2 separate regions of the Homo sapiens genome follow, and region 1 is linked to region 2. Evidence: promoter capture Hi-C in human tissues and cell types (Jung and others, 2019). All regions are on one chromosome and are shown on one strand. The core of a region is centred on a gene start or on the middle of the fragment in contact, and the rest is flanking DNA. Distances in the headings are between cores, read along the strand shown.

The links. The method cuts DNA at HindIII sites, captures the fragments that hold promoters and counts their contacts. A contact is called where the count stands out against the background at its distance.
Region 1: the fragment with the promoter of HECTD4 here is called in contact with the fragment with the promoter of MAPKAPK5 in region 2 in 2 of the 25 tissues and cell types used here (lymphoblastoid cells and stomach).

What each region holds. Positions count from the first base shown.
Region 1 is chr12:112,380,676-112,383,773 of GRCh38, reverse strand. It overlaps HECTD4 (HECT domain E3 ubiquitin protein ligase 4), which reads left to right and starts at 1,343. Exons shown (of 76, transcript NM_001388303.1): 1 at 1,343-1,822. The coding sequence starts at 1,646. RefSeq lists silencers at 1,023-1,312, 1,423-1,692, 1,703-2,192 and enhancers at 1,200-1,699, 2,885-3,098. The HindIII fragment of the contact is 28,101 bases long and covers 1-3,098 here.
Region 2 is chr12:111,840,850-111,844,136 of GRCh38, reverse strand. It overlaps MAPKAPK5 (MAPK activated protein kinase 5), which reads right to left and starts at 1,909. Exons shown (of 14, transcript NM_003668.4): 1 at 1,368-1,909. The coding sequence starts at 1,403. It overlaps MAPKAPK5-AS1 (MAPKAPK5 antisense RNA 1), which reads left to right and starts at 1,132. Exons shown (of 2, transcript NR_015404.2): 1 at 1,132-2,810. RefSeq lists enhancers at 1,224-1,323, 2,054-2,333 and silencers at 1,414-1,763, 1,844-2,023. The HindIII fragment of the contact is 25,902 bases long and covers 1-3,287 here.

The DNA of each region.
Region 1 (3,098 bases), core at 94-2,593, 540 kb before region 2:
TCTTGCTCTGTTGCCCAGGCTGGAGTGCAGTGGCATGATCTCGGCTCACTGCAACCTCCGCCTCCTGGGTTCCAGCTATTCTCCTGCCTCAGCCTCCTGAGTATCTGGGACTACAGGCATGTGCAACCATTCCTGGCTAATTTGTGTATTTTTTTTAGCAGAGACAGGGTTTCATCATGTTGACCAGGCTGGTCTCGAACTCCTGACCTCAGGTGATCTGCCCACCTTGGCCTCCCAAAGTGCTGGGATTACAGGTGTAAGCCACTGTGCCCGGCCTGTTTTATTATTTTTTAAGTGATAAAAATATACAAGTAATAGAGAACAATCTCATCTCAGTAGTTCCAGACCAGCCCCACACTCCCATGGCAACTCACCTTAAACATCTGGTGTGTATTTGTTCATGCATTGTTCTTTATACATATAGTTTTCCTTTCTTGTTTTTATAAAATGGCACTGGTGGGCATATATATATTTTTGGTGGGGAGGGAGGGATGGGGTCTCCCTCTGTCGCCCGGGCTGGAGTGCAGTGGCAAGATAATAGCTCACTGCAGCCTCCACCTCCTGAGTTCAAGAGATCCTCTTGCCTCAGCCTCCCGAGTAGCAGGACTACAGACGCTTGCCACCCTGCCCCGCTAATTTTTATTTTTTGTAGAGATGGGGTCTCCCTATGTTGCCCAGGCTGGCCTCAAACTTCTGGGCTCAAGCAGTCCTTCTGCCTTGACCTCCGTGCTGGGATTACAGGTGTGAGCCACCGCACCCGGCCTAGTGAGCATATTTTTAAGGTGTATGTCAATTAGTGTGGAACACTGATGGAACGAACATAGCAATAATTAGAATTGCCACTCATGGAGCACATATTAAGTGTCGGGCATTGAGCACCAAGCATTGTGGACAGACGCTTTATTTTCACCAGGTTTTGAGTGCTTACTGGGTACTAGACTTTTCAGTCAATATTAATCATCTACTATGTGATTCTACCAAGTGCTTATGAACAAGTGTGCAGCGCCTATTCTGCGCCAGCCTTTTGCTTGCATCTCATTTAAACGTGAAAACAAGGAGTGATCTCTATGCTCTGCCCAGGGTGGGGGCGCGGGCCCGAGCAAGGGGTGCACACCTGAGTAGGGACAGGACGGGGGAAGCGGCGTCCTCTTCCCTGGCGCGCTGCAAAGCCAGGGCTACCCTGAATGGCCAGGGGGAGAAGGGGCCGGCGGAGGTCAGGCCGAGGGCAGGCGGCAGCGAAGGGCTAGGCGGACGTCCAGGCCACCCGGGTGGCCTCGTCCGCGGAGCGGTGGGCGGAGCGGCGGGCGGGGCCTGTATTGTCCGCTCCGCGAGGCATGCCGGGAGCCCCGCCCCCAACATGGCGTCTCACTGACAGTTGGTTGCCGAGCGGCAGAGGCGGATCCTGCTCCTGAGGGCGGCGGCGGCGGCGGCGGCGGCGGCGGCGGCAGGGCCGGGGTCTCCCGGGCCGGGGTCGGGGGTATGGCGACTCGGACCGCCTAGGGCGGAGTTGCACGGGCGAGGCAGCAAGTGGGGCGCCGCTGGCGGGCGCGGCGGCCGCTGCCATGGACTGGTGATCGCGGCGGCTCCTGCTCCGTTTCCCCCGGCCGGGCGTCTGCTCCTCAGCGCCAAGCCTTCAGCCGGGGCCATGGGCTCGTCGGCGGCCGCGGCGGCGGCGGCGGCGGCGGCCGCTGACTCGGCGCAGTGGCTCTCGGTGAAGGAAGAGACCATCTTCCTGCACGACGGGCTGATCCGGGTCACCGACCTGGCCGAGCTGCCCAGCGAGATCCTCGGGGCCCCAGAGGCCGCGGACACCGACCTGGAGGTGAGCGAGGCGGCCCCCGGCCCCCGCCATCGGACTGACCCACTCGCCCGGCACCCCCGGGTCGGGCCCCCTCCTCGCCTCAGCCGCGGCCTCGCCTCCCGGCGGCTGCCGGGGCAGGTGTGTGTGGGCGCGGGGCGGGCAGGTGGGGCCGCGGCCGCAGGTCTGCGGACCGCCCGCCCCGCTCTCCCTCCCTCCCTCCTCGGGGCCTGGCGCCCGCAGGGGATTTCATTTGTGGTTTTCTTTTGAGCGTTCCGACACCCGGCATTTTATTAGGCTAGCGCCTGGCTCGGCCTTCATGCCCCAGAGGAGCCACCGCCACCACCCGGGCCCTCCCTCCCCTCCCCCACGGGCCCCCAGGACCCACTTCCAGGGCACACCCAGGTTGCTTAGCTTTGGGAACATTTTGATTTTCACGCTGTGTACCCTCCCATCCTTTTCTTCCCTAGTTCTGTTTTTTTTGTTTGGTTTGGTTTGGTTTTTTTCCGGGAGAGGGTAGTGGCAGCTGCGGGTCCGCGATGGGCAATCCAGCAACTTCTCTGTGTTGTGTCTCGGATGGATTGACACGGGGCCTTTGTCAGGGAAGCGGGCGCTGTGGACAGCGAGAGGGATGCTCCAGCGGCCCTCCATGCACTCTCGGGGAAGGGTCACTGGCGCGTTAGGCCGCAGGGCCTTTTTGTGTGCCCCGGGGGTCGCCAAGCATCCCGGGTTCAGAGCCGTGGCAGGTGCAACAGCAGATCTCATCAGTTGAGCTGCTTGGCCTTGGGGGCAGAAGGGAACCAAATATGCCTGGTTGGTGGGAACTTTCCATCGACTTCACTTGGGTTCGTGTTTGCCTAGAGGTGGGAATACTGGCAGTGTCGTTTCATGGAGGCCAACGGATGCTGACACTGCTCCCCTTCCACTTTGTGGGATGACATTTTGATGTGTAGGTAGCATGGGGTGTCATCAAATTTTTACTGCCGTAAGGAGAGCTTTCTGGGGTAGGGCGCAGAGAGGATGGCCTATCTTCTGGCTATAAACGGCATGCGAGGGATCTTTTGTGTTTTGCGGTTTTGCGTGCAGTTTGGCTTTACGCACAACGAACATTTATAGAAATGAATTAAAAGCCATTACTGTGTGTTTCTGGAAACGGCAGTGATCGGATCACATTGGCCGAGACATTTGGACGTGCTTGAGATGCGAATACGTTCCACTGTATTTTTGTGTCTGGATTTGCGGTTGCTTCAGCACTTCCGTTATGAACTCTTAATTGACTTATTTTACAATCTAGTCACCA
Region 2 (3,287 bases), core at 660-3,159:
ACCTCGTCTTCCTTGGGCCAGGCACGGTGGCTCACGCCTGTAATCCCACCATTTTGGGAGGCCAAGGCGGGCAGATCACGAGGTCAGGAGATCGAGCCCATCCTGGCTATTACGGTGAAACCCCGTCTCTACTAAAAATACAAACAAAAGAAAAAATTAGCAGGGCGTGGTGGGTGGGCGCCTGTAATCCCAGCTACTCGGGAGGCTGAGGCAGGAGAATGGCGTGAACCCAGGAGGCGGAACTTGCAGTGAGCCAAGATCGGGCCACTGCACTCCAGCCTGGGCGACAGAGTGAGACTCCGTCTCAAAAACAAACAAACAGACAAAAAACCTGGTCTTCCTTAATGTATATGTTATATGTTGATGCCTCCTTTAAAGGGTTAAGTTTCTTTGGAATGACTTGATGATTTTGAGAAACTATATACACCACCTAAAGAATTGGTAGAAATGTAAATTCTTAATCATTACTAGTAACTGTCTTGAAGGGGAAAATAACCCCAAGCTGCCAATAGATGCCTGTCCTTCAAGATAAAATGAAATTATTCAATGCACTGGGCTGACTTAACACTACAAATAAGTAAATAATACATCAAACTTTAAGCGTCAATGTTTAATTTTCATAAGACTAATTTCTTAGCTACAGCTGTCAAGACAGATAACTGGCCCTGAGTGGGCAAAATGTGCCTTTAAAAAAAAAAAAAGTTAAAAACAGGTTTTAGAAAACTTATTTTATTTGTGTAATTTTCGAACACACATTTGCTTTTCTTTTGGTTTAAGTGCAGTTAAGTCACAGGAACTGTTAACTTTTCCTAAGTAAACTCAATGCTTCCTAGGAGAAAGAAGAGGAAAAAGAAAAAGGGGAGAATACACGGAAAAGTGAGGACAACCTATTCCCCAAAGGACAGGTTTTGTACGGCGAACCACCTTTTTCCAACTGCAGATTTCCAGAAGGCTGATTTCAAACAAATCGGGAGGGATGGATAAATTCCAACTCTCCAAGTTCTGTAGACCATCCGGAAGCAAATGCTGGCGGCCTTGGGGAGTGATCGAAACGTGTAGTAGTAGTAGTAGGGCTCTCTTCGTCCCATTCATTGACACTTAATAGTGTCTCCAGGCCACTCACCTCTGTTCCAGCTGAGCACAAATCACACTCACCAGGGAAGCTGGCGGGAGTCGGACACACACCTACACCCACACCCATAACCCTTGGCCCCAGGGCTGTAAAGCGCGATCCACGGAATCCGGGGGAGGCCGAAACCCGGTAGTCGATGGAACCTCTCACTGCAAAATCTCCCTGCTTTTTGAGGCTAGAGCCGAGAAGAACGCCACAGGACAACGCGGGGGAAGAGGGGGCACCTCCCCCTTACCTTGATGGCTTTGTCCATGTCGCTCTCCTCCGACATACTCAGTGGGGCCCCCACAGCCGGGAGAGGCGGAGGCTGCTCAGCAGCCCTGTCCCCGCGCGGCCGAGGGAGCAAAGGGCTCGGCACTCGGGCCCCTGGGCCTCGTGGCGACGGGCAGCAGCCGCCCCTCGGGACCGGTGGGGATGAGGACCCCGGCGCCGGCTCTGCTTCGGCGGGCGGCTCTAGGCTGGCGGCAGCAGCAGCGGCGGAGGCGGCGGCCCCTGGGGACAGGTCTTTGTGCTGGGCCCCACGCGGCCGCCTCCTAGCCTCATCCCCAGCTGGGGAGGCAGGCTCCTGGGGTAGGGCGAGGCGGGGAGGGCCTCGACCCGGGGCGCCGTGCAAGGGCCTCGCGGGGCCGCCGCTTAGACCTGGGCTCGCCAGGTCCTAAAGAAGAGCCTGCGCCTCCGCCTCCGCCGCCTGCACCGCCGCGAAGCCGAAGCCGAAGCCGAAGCAGAGCTCGGCGCCGCTGCTCCCGCCGCCGCCTCAGCGCCACACATCGCCGGGACACCCGCGCCGGGCAGCCCCGCCGGCCGCCCTCACGCACGCGCTGTGCCCCGCGGGAGCTCCAGGCCGCCCCTCCTGCCGCCCAGCTTCGTGACTCCACGGCCCCACGCGCCCCTTGCTGCCTTCCGCTGGGGTTTCCGAGCCGCCCCCGAACCGCGCACCCGACTTGCAGGCGTCCGCCTGGGCCTCCCTAAGACACGCCGCATACAGGACAGGCCCCTGGGCCTTCCGCGGCGATGGCGCTGCGCTAATGACGTCATAGGCCCGGACTCGCGTGAGTGCGCGTGCGTTGGGGCCTCAGCCTTTATCTCCACTCTGCGGAGATTCACGCCTGGAAAACGCTCTTCTGAGAGGATCTGTGGAGGTCAACCCAGGAGAGAGAAGACAGGACTGAAGCACTGAAAGGGTCCTGCCGTTAAGGGCGCAGGATTGTATAGAATATATAATAGCAGTAGCAGCTCTGTTTACGGAGCATTAACCTTACGTGGAGTTATTTCCTGCATTTCCTCCTTTCGTCTTTACAAGGTAGCCGTTTGGCGTCGTGAGGTATGGATGTTCCCATCCCTAATTTGCAAAATAGGTAACTGAGGCTCAGGAGAGCTAGACTAGTTTGTGCACAGCCGAGAAGTGGTCAAGCTAGAATGGGACCCCAGGTTTGTGCTCCCTACTCTCCACCGATAACCTATCAAAGGGCTTTGCAAGAGCTTTTGACTAATCGTCTGTCAATGGTTCTTCATTCACGTATTAATTGCACATCAGTATGTGCCAAATCTACTAGACATTGGAGAAACAGTAGGAACAACACATGGTACCGGCACATGGATCTTTCAGGAAAACGAAGTAGGTAATAAACAGGAAAAAGCCCGAGTCTGATGCTAAGAAGAACATAAACAGGATGCTGAGGTAAGAGAATAACTGGATGTGGGGACTTCTTCGTATTAGATGATTAAGGAAGGAATCTCAGGAGGTAACATTTAAGCTGAGACCCCTGAGGAATGAGAAAGGGCTGGCTATTGGAAATCCAAGGAAAGATTTCTGGGCAGATGGGTAGAAATTTTAAGGTGGAAATAAGCTAAATATGTTCAAGAATCAGCAAGAAGGTCATTGTAGCTGGAGTAGATCGAGTAGGAGGAGACTGATAAAGGGTGAGGTTGGAGGCTGGGCGCGGTGGGTCACGCCTGTAATCCCAGCACTTCGGGAGGCCAAGGCGGGCGGATCACTTGAAGTCAGGAGTTCGAGACCGGCCTGGCCAACATGGCGAAACCCCGTCTCTATTTCAAAAAAAGAAAAAAAAAAGTATAAAAAGGATGAGGTTGGAGATGTGGGCAGGGGCTGCATCATATGTGGCCTTTGGGGGTCATAATCAGGACTTTGGATTTT